Linked DNA regions of Homo sapiens: region 2 is linked to region 1. The links are contacts of gene promoters, found by promoter capture Hi-C in human tissues and cell types (Jung and others, 2019). All regions are on one chromosome and are shown on one strand. Each heading gives the region's core, a stretch centred on a gene start or on the middle of the fragment in contact. The rest is flanking DNA. Distances are from core to core; before and after follow the strand shown.

The links. Contacts are between HindIII fragments. The study calls those that stand out against the background at their distance.
Region 2: a contact is called between a fragment that was not itself captured here and the fragment with the promoter of KL in region 1, in 1 of the 25 tissues and cell types used here (dorsolateral prefrontal cortex).

Annotation. Positions count from the first base shown.
Region 1 is chr13:33,012,715-33,018,196 of GRCh38, forward strand. KL (klotho) reads left to right here and starts at 3,709. Exons shown (of 5, transcript NM_004795.4): 1 at 3,709-4,545. The coding sequence starts at 3,727. LOC124903151 (translation initiation factor IF-2-like) reads right to left here and starts at 3,739. Exons shown (of 2, transcript XM_047430819.1): 1 at 3,122-3,739; 2 at 138-921. The coding sequence starts at 3,728. The coding sequence ends at 731. RefSeq lists enhancers at 3,313-3,888, 3,889-4,466, 4,675-4,734 and silencers at 3,745-3,814, 4,505-4,604. The HindIII fragment of the contact is 14,739 bases long and covers 1-5,482 here.
Region 2 is chr13:32,593,764-32,599,223 of GRCh38, forward strand. The region is part of intron 1 of PDS5B (PDS5 cohesin associated factor B); the gene reads left to right. Among named protein-coding and RNA genes, the nearest start is that of PDS5B, 10 kb to the left of the region's middle. The HindIII fragment of the contact is 7,594 bases long and covers 1-5,460 here.

The DNA.
Region 1 (5,482 bases), core at 2,459-4,958:
TGTTGGCCAGGCTGGTCTCGAACTCCTGACCTTAGGTGGTCCACCTGCCTCGGCCTCTCAAAGTGCTGGGATTACAGGTGTGAGCCACCACGCCCGGCCAGATTTTAAGTCTTCTTACCACAAAAAAAATAAGTATGTGAGGTAATACATACGTTTATTAGCTCAATTTAGCCACTCTACAAATGTGTATATATTTTAAAATAACATGCTGTACATGAAAATATATATAATTTTTTGTCTGTTAAAAATTAATTAATTAATTAATTTTAAAAAGAGGAGGGCAGGGAATACTTGTGTATTTTGTTAACTGGACAAATGAAACTCTACTTTCATTTGCTCATTAAACAAATACTTGTTTTGTGCTCAGCATGATTCTAGGCACTGGGACTACTGCATTTTGGTCCATTACTTCCTTGCGCACAAAAACCCTTTCTTTTCACCACGAATACACTATGAACATGTTTTTTTCTTCAGTGTTGGCATCTCTTGATTCCTTCCCTCCAGGTCTTTGTGCGAGTTTTACTCTTTAAACCCCAGATATTGTCATATTTTTCTCTGTTAAACTTTTCCAAACAACTCAAAATAGGGTAATTTCTTCTTCTTCTGAATTTCTCTGACAATTATTCTATGGGTCATTTATTAACACAGCATAATCAAACAACTTATTTATTTTCATCTTTCTTGATCCTTTCTTCAGTTGGATGTTGTCTTTGAGGGCAGAGGTTGTCCTCTATGTTTTGAAGTCTCCACACAGCTCGTCGTTGCCTTGCCCGTAGTTGTAGCTCAGTGAAATAAAAATATGTCCGTAGAAGGTGATGTCTGTGACTGGTGAGCTGAGAGCTTGTGGGGTTGGTGTTGTATTTGGGTGCATGTGAATCAGTGCATCTCCTGCTCCATTGGTGTTAAAAGGCTCCCATCGTCCTGGGAACACAATAGGAAAGAGAACAGGTGGGAAGGCACTGGATGAAGGAATGTGGAGAATGGAGGAAAAGTTGATCAGATTGTTGACAACTTTCAGTGTTGAAATTGTCACCAAAATCAAAGTCAGTAAATAAATTTACAATGTCCTTTTCTTCAATGCATCAATAACTTCACCTTCCTGTTCAAAGCACAGCAAGTAATTAATCTCTTATTTGCATTTGAAACCCAAGTTTCAGATGTTTGAAGGTGGTTGTAAAAAATAAAAACCAAAATAAAGCCAAAATAAATAAGCAGCAGCACTAGGCCGGGCACAGTGTCTCACACCTGTAATCCCAGCATTTTAGGAGACCGAGGTGGGTGGATCACAGGAGATCAGGAGTTTGAGACCAGCCTGGTCAGCATGGTGAAACCCTGTCTCTACTAAAAATACAAAAATTAGCCAGGTGTGGTGGTGTGCCCTTATAATCCCAGCTACTGGGGGGCTGAGACAGGAGAATTGCTTGAACCTGGGAGGCAGAGGTTGCAGTGAGCAGAGACCATGCCACTGCACTCCAGCCTGGGCGACAGAGTGAGACTCCGTCTCACACTTGTGGAACCCAGAACTTAGTAACCATGAACAGAACCTTAATAAACAGAAAGTTCTGGAAATAAAGTTTAATCATCATGCAATCTTTATCACTGGGTTAAATGAACAATCATCTGGGAACATGTCTTGGAATGCTTAAAGCTTTGAGATGCATGTGCCTATGTGGCAGACAAATTTCAAATGTGAAACGTTTAGTTAACTTGGTCTTGCTTTTTAATCACTGCTTTAAAATTTAAAAAATGCTGCTGGTCAAGTAAAAATAGCAATAGATAAAATCTGCCCTGAGCAAACAGACCATACATCAATAAATGAATACTTAGCTTAAGCGATTTTCCATGAGACCCATGAAGCATTTCTAATTGAAACTTAACAAGCTACAACCCAACAGACACTCCAATCTTCACTTCTAGAAGGGAAATGTGATACTCCATGTAGACGTAGCTTTTTAAATTTAGCTGGAAGACAGCGTGACAGTGAAGTTGTGTGCTGTAATTTTTTAAAATTGCTGAAGTGTCATGGTTTGCTATTTCGTATTTATTGAAAAAATGTAAATGCTATATTTAACAGAATGGCAGTAACTCTGTTTCAATCTGAAGACTTAATCTTACTAATCATGGTAATATATGCTGGCTGGAGTTGGGAATATTTCATAAAATACTGGAATAAATTTGTGCTTATATTTCAGGGGAATTAATAAAAGCACCTTCATCTGCAACATTTAAAATGTTATTGCCTTTAAATTTGTATTAAATAATGCAGGGAAGATAGATCACTGGGGGAGAATGGATGCACCTCTGTGAGGATCTTGGTCATTCAACACACGTGTACGGGTGAGGAAACTAAGGCACGACTTACTGGGTAGGGAGGTAGGGATATTAGCAAGATCCTTCACTTGTCTGGGCTTTCTGTCTTTGAGTCACCTTTGCGCAGTTTTTCACTGGACTTCACAAGCCTCTGAGGCGGCAGGGCAGACAGGACATCCTTATTTTATAGAGGAGGAAACTTAGGCTTACAGAGGTTTCCTGCCCCAAATCACAAAGGTGGAGCCTAGACCTTCTCAGTCTCCACCAACTGTATTTCGGTTAGCCACAATCCTATCTACCCACATCCAAATGGACACTGTGGCTCTGCAACTTCTGTCAAAAGGGCTCTTTGGCAACAGGAAAAACGTCATGGCTCCATTGTATTGTAGAGGATGGGAATGGGTGTTCCGGCTAAATTCTCCCTCCCCTTTCCCTCCACAGCTCAGATGGCAAATGTGCGACCCAGGGACCTCCCGCTCCAGCAGACCTGTGCGCACAACTTTGCACAGATTACCTGCTAAGTCAGAGCCGAAAGGTAACACAGATGCCAAAGGATAATAAAGGTGAATGAGATTTACTCAAAATTGGAAACTTGGTGTTTGGTTTTTCAGGAGAACAATCAACGACTGTGATTTGAAGTTCACCAGGGTATTCTGAGAGATCTAATCAAAGATAGAGTGCTGGTTTGAAATTATTAAAAGGTAACAGTAAAAGGGAGAGCAAAACCCCAGTCCCAACGCAACCCATAAATCTACTTTGTCTTCCTCGAAAGAGGGGCGCGGGTGGGCGCGTCTCCCCGCGAGCATCTCACCTAAGGGGGAATCCCTTTCAGCGCACGGCGAAGTTCCCCCTCGGCTGTCCCACCTGGCAGTCCCTCTAGGATTTCGGCCAGTCCCTAATTGGCTCCAGCAATGTCCAGCCGGAGCTTCTTTGGGCCTCCGAGTGGGAGAAAAGTGAGAGCAGGTGCTTCCCCAGCGGCGCGCTCCGCTAGGGCCCGGCAGGATCCCGCCCCCAAGTCGGGGAAAGTTGGTCGGCGCCTTTTCTCCCCGACGAAGCCGCTCCAGGGCTGCTCTCAGAGGACGCGCGGCAGGCAAAGAGAATGAACCTGAGCGTCCACGAAACGTCCTGCACGGCTCCCGGGAGCTGGGAGAAACAGGTGCCTTTCTCCGACGTCCGCGGGCGACGCCTGCCGCACCTTGCCCGCTGCCGCGCCCCTCCCGGGCACCCCTCGCCCTCGGCGCCCCTGCCCCCGCCCCCAGTGCCAGGGCGGAGGCAGTCCCGGCTCGCAGGTAATTATTGCCAGCGGAGCCCGCCGGGGAGCGGGGGTGGGCGCGCCGGCGGTGGGCGGGCGGGCGCGGCGGGGCGCGGGCATAAAGGGGCGCGGCGCGGGGCCCCGGAGCCTGGCTCCCGCGCAGCATGCCCGCCAGCGCCCCGCCGCGCCGCCCGCGGCCGCCGCCGCCGTCGCTGTCGCTGCTGCTGGTGCTGCTGGGCCTGGGCGGCCGCCGCCTGCGTGCGGAGCCGGGCGACGGCGCGCAGACCTGGGCCCGTTTCTCGCGGCCTCCTGCCCCCGAGGCCGCGGGCCTCTTCCAGGGCACCTTCCCCGACGGCTTCCTCTGGGCCGTGGGCAGCGCCGCCTACCAGACCGAGGGCGGCTGGCAGCAGCACGGCAAGGGTGCGTCCATCTGGGATACGTTCACCCACCACCCCCTGGCACCCCCGGGAGACTCCCGGAACGCCAGTCTGCCGTTGGGCGCCCCGTCGCCGCTGCAGCCCGCCACCGGGGACGTAGCCAGCGACAGCTACAACAACGTCTTCCGCGACACGGAGGCGCTGCGCGAGCTCGGGGTCACTCACTACCGCTTCTCCATCTCGTGGGCGCGAGTGCTCCCCAATGGCAGCGCGGGCGTCCCCAACCGCGAGGGGCTGCGCTACTACCGGCGCCTGCTGGAGCGGCTGCGGGAGCTGGGCGTGCAGCCCGTGGTCACCCTGTACCACTGGGACCTGCCCCAGCGCCTGCAGGACGCCTACGGCGGCTGGGCCAACCGCGCCCTGGCCGACCACTTCAGGGATTACGCGGAGCTCTGCTTCCGCCACTTCGGCGGTCAGGTCAAGTACTGGATCACCATCGACAACCCCTACGTGGTGGCCTGGCACGGCTACGCCACCGGGCGCCTGGCCCCCGGCATCCGGGGCAGCCCGCGGCTCGGGTACCTGGTGGCGCACAACCTCCTCCTGGTGAGTGCGAGGGGCCAGGCGGAGGGCCACGCAGGGGAGACAGAGGGCCTCCACAGGGGCCAGGGGGAAGTGTGGGAACTGAGTCTCCCCCAGACGAGGCTTCACTTGGACACGTGTATGTGGTCACCGGGGGAAACTGAGCAGTTCTGACTTCCCTTGGAAGGCGTGGAATTAGGAGAGAAATCCCTTAGTGGGCACACGAGTGAGTGCCCCTTGGAGTCCATCTGTGGAAAGGAAGCGGTGATAGGTTTCCGCAGTGAGGAAAGAAACTCCTTTCTCTGGGTGTAGAGGAATTCCTAGAGGTGAGGGCGGGGAGGATTTGCTAGGAGTAACTGCAGGAAGAGAATGAGCAGGGTGGATGAAAGAAACACGTTTGTTCTTAAGCCGCACAGATAGCATTACTCTCTGGAGCTGTCACGAGTTCAGTGTTAATCCAATAAGATCTGTCTTGCTTGTGGCACAAGTTCACACTGTTGTGAAAGTGTCAAAACACAACTCCCGGAGAGTCAGATTTAAACTGTGTTTGGAGGTCCCTTCTGCGGCAGGGCAGGGAACTGCATCCACCAATCTTATTCACCGGGGTGTGAAGACCGCTTTATACAATCTCAAACAAAGCTAGTCATAGAAACACAGAAACAACTGCAGGGTGATATAGATTGTTCTACCACATCTATATTTCCACAGTGCTCTCTACAGTTGAAAGGGTTCCTCACTTATGACATTGTTAGCCTGATAAAATTAATTGTAACACCCTTGTGCAAAATATTTTATTAATTTTGACAGCAGGAAATATTGCTATGCCATGGTAAAGTTGTCTCAAGTATTTCTTCCTCCTTTTTTCTCCTTAGTGTTCAAATTTAGGCACCATTGTTTTGGGGATTCATTTATAATCATGTCAGTTGTTAGTACACTTTGTACAGAGTTTTGTATCACAATA
Region 2 (5,460 bases), core at 1,818-4,317, 420 kb before region 1:
TTGTCTTCCTGTTGAATAGGTTGAGGAGAAGGAGGAAAAGGAAGGATTAGTCTTGTTGTCTCGAGGGTGGCAAGGTGGAAGAGAGAGAGGAGGTGGAAGAGGAGGCAGGAGAGGGAGGCGCACTGTAACTTTTACTGAAAAAAATCCATGTATAAATGAACCTGCACAGTTCAAACCTGTGTTGTTGTTACATATTTTCAACTAGCTAGAAGAGAGGCTTTTGAATGTTCCCAACACAAATAAATGATAAATGTTTGAAGTGATGGATATGTTAATTACCCCGATTTGATCATTACACATTGTATATGTTGAAGTATCACCATGTAACCCACAAACATGTACAATTATATGCTGGTTAAAAAGCATAAAAATAAAACCCCCGAACCTACTAGCTGTCACTTCCCATCACCCCTTATTTCTTTAGTGTTTGGGATAAGCCAGGTCAAATGCTTAGGTTGGTGCCAAAATGTAAGTACACAGTAAAAAAGCAGTTATAACTTTTTGCAGGGAGACTGTGTGGCAAAGTCCATTTACATAGTTTTAGAGAATGCAAAAATGGGATAATTACTGAATGGATGTTTGCATACTTCCATACTGTGCAAGGATGTGGTGCACAGTGCTGGCTAGAGATACAAAGATGAAAGATACTCAATCAAGAGATGTATATTCAAGTGGGAGGAAAGAGGCTGGTATAAAAATACTTATAAAACAAGCCAGAGTATAGTTAGTGCCTTCAGGAAGGGCTCAATACAATATTTGGAATTGGAAACTTGACAAATGGAGATTAGTCATGTTACTCTGAGAGTACAGGAACTATGAAAAAATTCTTGAAGGAGCAACCATTTTGACCAAGTCTTAGATGATGGAAAGATGGGATTTCTGGCTTTAATGAAGAGTAAAGAATGCAATGCTTTTTGAAGTCTTAAACTATTTGTTTTTGTTTTTGTACCCTCATGCTGCTGCCAGATGATTGCCTCTGGAAGCTATTCCTACACCTTTTTTTGATGTTTCTAATCTGTTATGAACCTGGGGGACTAAATTAGTAAATAATCTTTTAGTGAGAGCCTGATGTCTGTATGAAAAGGATACCAATATATGGTCTTACGCTGTCGTTTTGATATAGTTGCTTTTTTAGTTTATTCTGTGGGTCTTGGTTTCATCCCTGTTAATTGGTCTTACAGAATAAGTAATTCCTAGATAAATTAGCCTCATATACGTGTCTTCTTCTCCAAGGCTTCTAGTAACAACTATGTCCCCTGACCATTCTCCTGAATTTCCCATCTTCTTTTTCTAGTGCACTGTTGGACACAACACCTCCAGTACAATATATCCCAAACTGATCTACCTTCTCTTACTCTTTAACATCTTTCCAACTTGTACCTTGATTAATAACAGATTTCTTTCTTAAAAAAAAAAATGTTGTAGGGGATGACATGACTAGGTTTATCATCATGCTAGAAACCTGGGAGTCATCTTGACTTCTCCATCTCCCCTAACTCTCACATTACATAAGTTACCAAATCCTGTTGATTCTGATATAGTATTTTTAAAGGTTATTATTATTTTAAATTATATGCACATATATACTCCAAAAGTAAGACGGCAAAAAGGAAAAAGATACACAATAAAAAACCTCTCATTCCTTCCCCATTTGCCTCATTCCTAGACTCCCACAAAAGTTTATATATGTTAATGTTATGTTATATCCTTCTGGGGGTTTCAAAACACAACTATGTAGAAGGAACCACATACTTAAACAAATAGTAACACATAGCATGGGATTTCCACAATAGAGGTATACACAGAGTCTGTGAGAAGGAGAAAGAACCACCATGCATTCCCTAAAAGAAGAGTTAGGTATTGGAAAAACCTTCCTATTGGGTCCTGAATAGAAGATGAAAAGGAGAACTTTGGACACGTGAATAAACCAAACTGAGCTGTTAATAAGCAGAGAACTATCAATTAGACACAGAGACAAAGGGTCTAACAATAGGATGCTAGAACATTTCATTGTTTGGGGGGTTCAAAGGACCTATAAGGAAATAAAAGAAAATGCTGGCAGCCACACACAGTGGCTTACATCTGTAATTCCAGCACTTTAGGAGGCCGAGGTGGGCTTCTTGAGGCCATGGACTTGCAGTTACTTTGGGATCTAGCAAAGATTTCAGCGCATTGTAGATGATGAATATTTATTGAATATGTGTAATAATGTATATATACTAAACATATATGTGACAACCCAAGACAAGGAAAATTAATACAATATTAAGCTCACAGATTTATTTAGAAATATAAAATTTTATTTTTATTGAGGTGTAATTAAAATACAGTAAAATGTGCAGATCTTAGCTGTTCACTTTGATGAGGTGTGATGATTATACACATGTAACCAATAACCACAAGAAGATGTAGAGCATTTTTATTACCCCACAACGTTTCCTTGTTGCTCTCTCCATTCAATTTCTTTTGCCTCCAAACACTCTTTGATTTTTAAATGTAGATTAGTTTTGTTCTATCTTCATACAGTGTGTGCTCTTGTGTATCTGGCTTCTTTTGCTTAACATATTTTGAGATTCATCCATGGGGTTGGATGTATCAGTTTTTATTGCTAAGTAATATTTCATTGGGGGAATATTTCACAGTTTATCTTCTGTTGATGGACATTTGGGTAGAATCCAGTTTTTGACTATTATGAATAAGGCCTATACAGATCTTTTTGCAAGTGTGTGTTTTCATTTCTCTTGAGTAAATACCTAGGAATGGAATTGCTGGTTTGTAGGCATATGTGTGTTTAACTTTACAGGAAACTAGTTTTTCAAAGTGGTTTTCCTTTTTATATTCCCACCTGAATATATGAATGTTCTAGTTGTTTTACATCCTCACCAACACTTGGTTAGTCAATCTTTTTAATTTTAGCTATTCTAGTGGGTGTGGAAGGGTATCTCATTGTGGTTTTATTTTGGATTTCCTTGATATCTAGTGATGTTGAGCACCTTTTTGCATGGTTGTTGACAGTATATTTTCTTTCGTAGGATGCCTCTTCAAGCTTTCTGCCCATTAAAAAATGGATTATCTTTTTACTATTGATATGCAGGAATTCTTAATGTACTCACGATACAAATTCTATGTCAGATCAGAGTATTAAGAGTATTTTCTCCTGTTTTGTAGCTTGCCTTATCTTTTTTTTAACAGTATTTTGATGAGTGGAAGTTTTAAAATTTGATGAAGTCCAGTCAATCAACTTTTTGTTTTATGGATTGTGCTTTGAGTTCTTTTTATTTTTTATTTTTTTGAGACAGCGTCTCACTCTCCCAGGCTAGAGTTTAGTGGCGCCATCATAGCTCACTGCAGCCTGGAACTTTTGGGCTCAAGCCACCCTCCTATCTCAGCCTCCTGAGTAGCTGGGTCTACAGATACGTGCCACCATGGCTGGCTCATTTTTTTTTTTTTTTGTATTTTTTGTAGAGATGGGGTTCGCCATGTTGCCCAGGCTGGTGTTGAACTCCTAGGCTCAAGTGATCTTCCTGCCTCAGCCTCCCAAAGTGCTGGGATTACAGGCATGAGCCAGTGTGCCTGGCCCTTTAATTTCTTTTTCACATGTTATTGCAGCATCTGGGATCTTCAATACAACATTGAAGAGAAATGGTGAGAGTGGCTGGGTGCAGTGGTATGGTCCTGTAGTCCCAACTACTTGGGAAGCAAGAGGATTGCTTGAGCCCAGGAGTTCGAGTCCAGCCTGGGTAACACAGAGAGATCCTGTCTCTTTAAAAAAAAGAAAGAGGCCGGGCGCAGTGGCCCATGCCTGTAATCCGAGCACTTTGGGAGGCTGAGGCCGAGGGGGGGGCGGCAGGGGGTGCGGGGGTTGCAAGGTCAAGAGATAGAGACCATCCTGGCTAACATGGTGAAACCCTGTCTCTACTAAAAAATACAAAAATTAGTTGGGCATGGTGGTGTGCATCTGTAGTACCAGCTACTCAGGAGGCTGAGGCAGGAGAATTGCTTGAACCTGGGAGGCAGAGGTTGCAGTGAGCAGAGGTCGTGCCACTGCACTCCAGCCTGGCGACAGCGAGACTCTGTCTCAAAAAAAAAAAAAAGAAAATTAATTTCAGTGTTAACATAAAATATGTTTTAAAATGATGAATTTTTTTTTAAATGAGAGTGAACATCCTGGTCTTGTTGTGATCTTAAGGGGGAAGGCATTTAGTCTTTCCCCAGTAAGTAGTATGTCAGCAGTGGATATTCTGTAGATTAAAAAAAAGAAAATCAGACGAGACGTTTCCTTCCAGTTTACTGGGATTTTAATTAAATCAAATTAATTAATTTACTTTTTGAGATGGAGTCTCACTCTGTCACCTAGGCTGGGGTGCAGTGGTGTGATCTTGGCGCACTGCAACCTCCACCTCCCGGGTTCAAGCAATTCTGCCTCAGCCTCTCAAGTATCTGGGACTACAGGCACCCGCCACCACGCCCAGCAAATTTTTTTGTATTTTTAGTAGAGATGGGGTTTCACTATGTTGGCCAGGCTGGTCTCGAACTCCTGACCTTGTGATCCACCTGCCTTGGCCTCCCAAAGTGCTGGGATTACAGGCGTGAGCCACCGCGCCTGGCCAGGATTTTTATTTTTAAATTATGAATGGGTGCTGAATTTTGTCAGATACCCTCTCTCCTTTTTGGTATTTATTGAGATTATTGTAGTTTTTAAATATTCCATTTTATTAACTTATTTAGAGACAGGGTCTCACTGTATTGCTCAGGCTGAAGTGCAGTGGTGTACCCAGTTCACTGTAACCTCAAATTCCTGGGCTCAAGCAGTCCTCCTGCCTTAGCCTCCTGGGTAGCTAGGACTACAGGCACATGCCACCAAGAATTTCCTTTAATGTTGCATAATGCATAGGTCTAGTAATAGCATCAGTTTTCATTACTTTAAATATATCTATATTTTACTGTCATTTTTCAAGGATATTTTTGCTGGATATAGAATTCTCAGTTGATGGTTTTTTTTCTCTCTTTTTTTTTTTTTTTTTTGAGACAGAGTCTTGCCCTGTCACCTAGGCAGGAGTGCAGTGGCACTATCTCGGCTTACTGCAGGCTCCGCCTCCTGGGTTCACGCCATTCTCCTGCCTCAGCCTTCCAAGTAGCTGGGACTATAGGCGCCTGCCACGGCGCCCAGCTAATTTTTTGTATTTTTAGTAGAGACGGGGTTTCACTGTGTTAGCCAGGATGGTCTCGATCTCCTGACCTCGTGATCCGTCTGCCTCGGCTTCCCAAAGTGCTGGGATTACAGGCGTGAGCCACCACGCCCAGCCTCAGTTTTTTTCCTTTAATCAATTTAAAGATGTCATTTTATTCTTCTCTGGTCTCCATTGTTTCTTTAACTTTCAACAATTTGATGTTGAAAGTTATTGTCATATAAATATAACATTCATATTGAGTAGGATAAAGTTATATTGAATTTGTGAA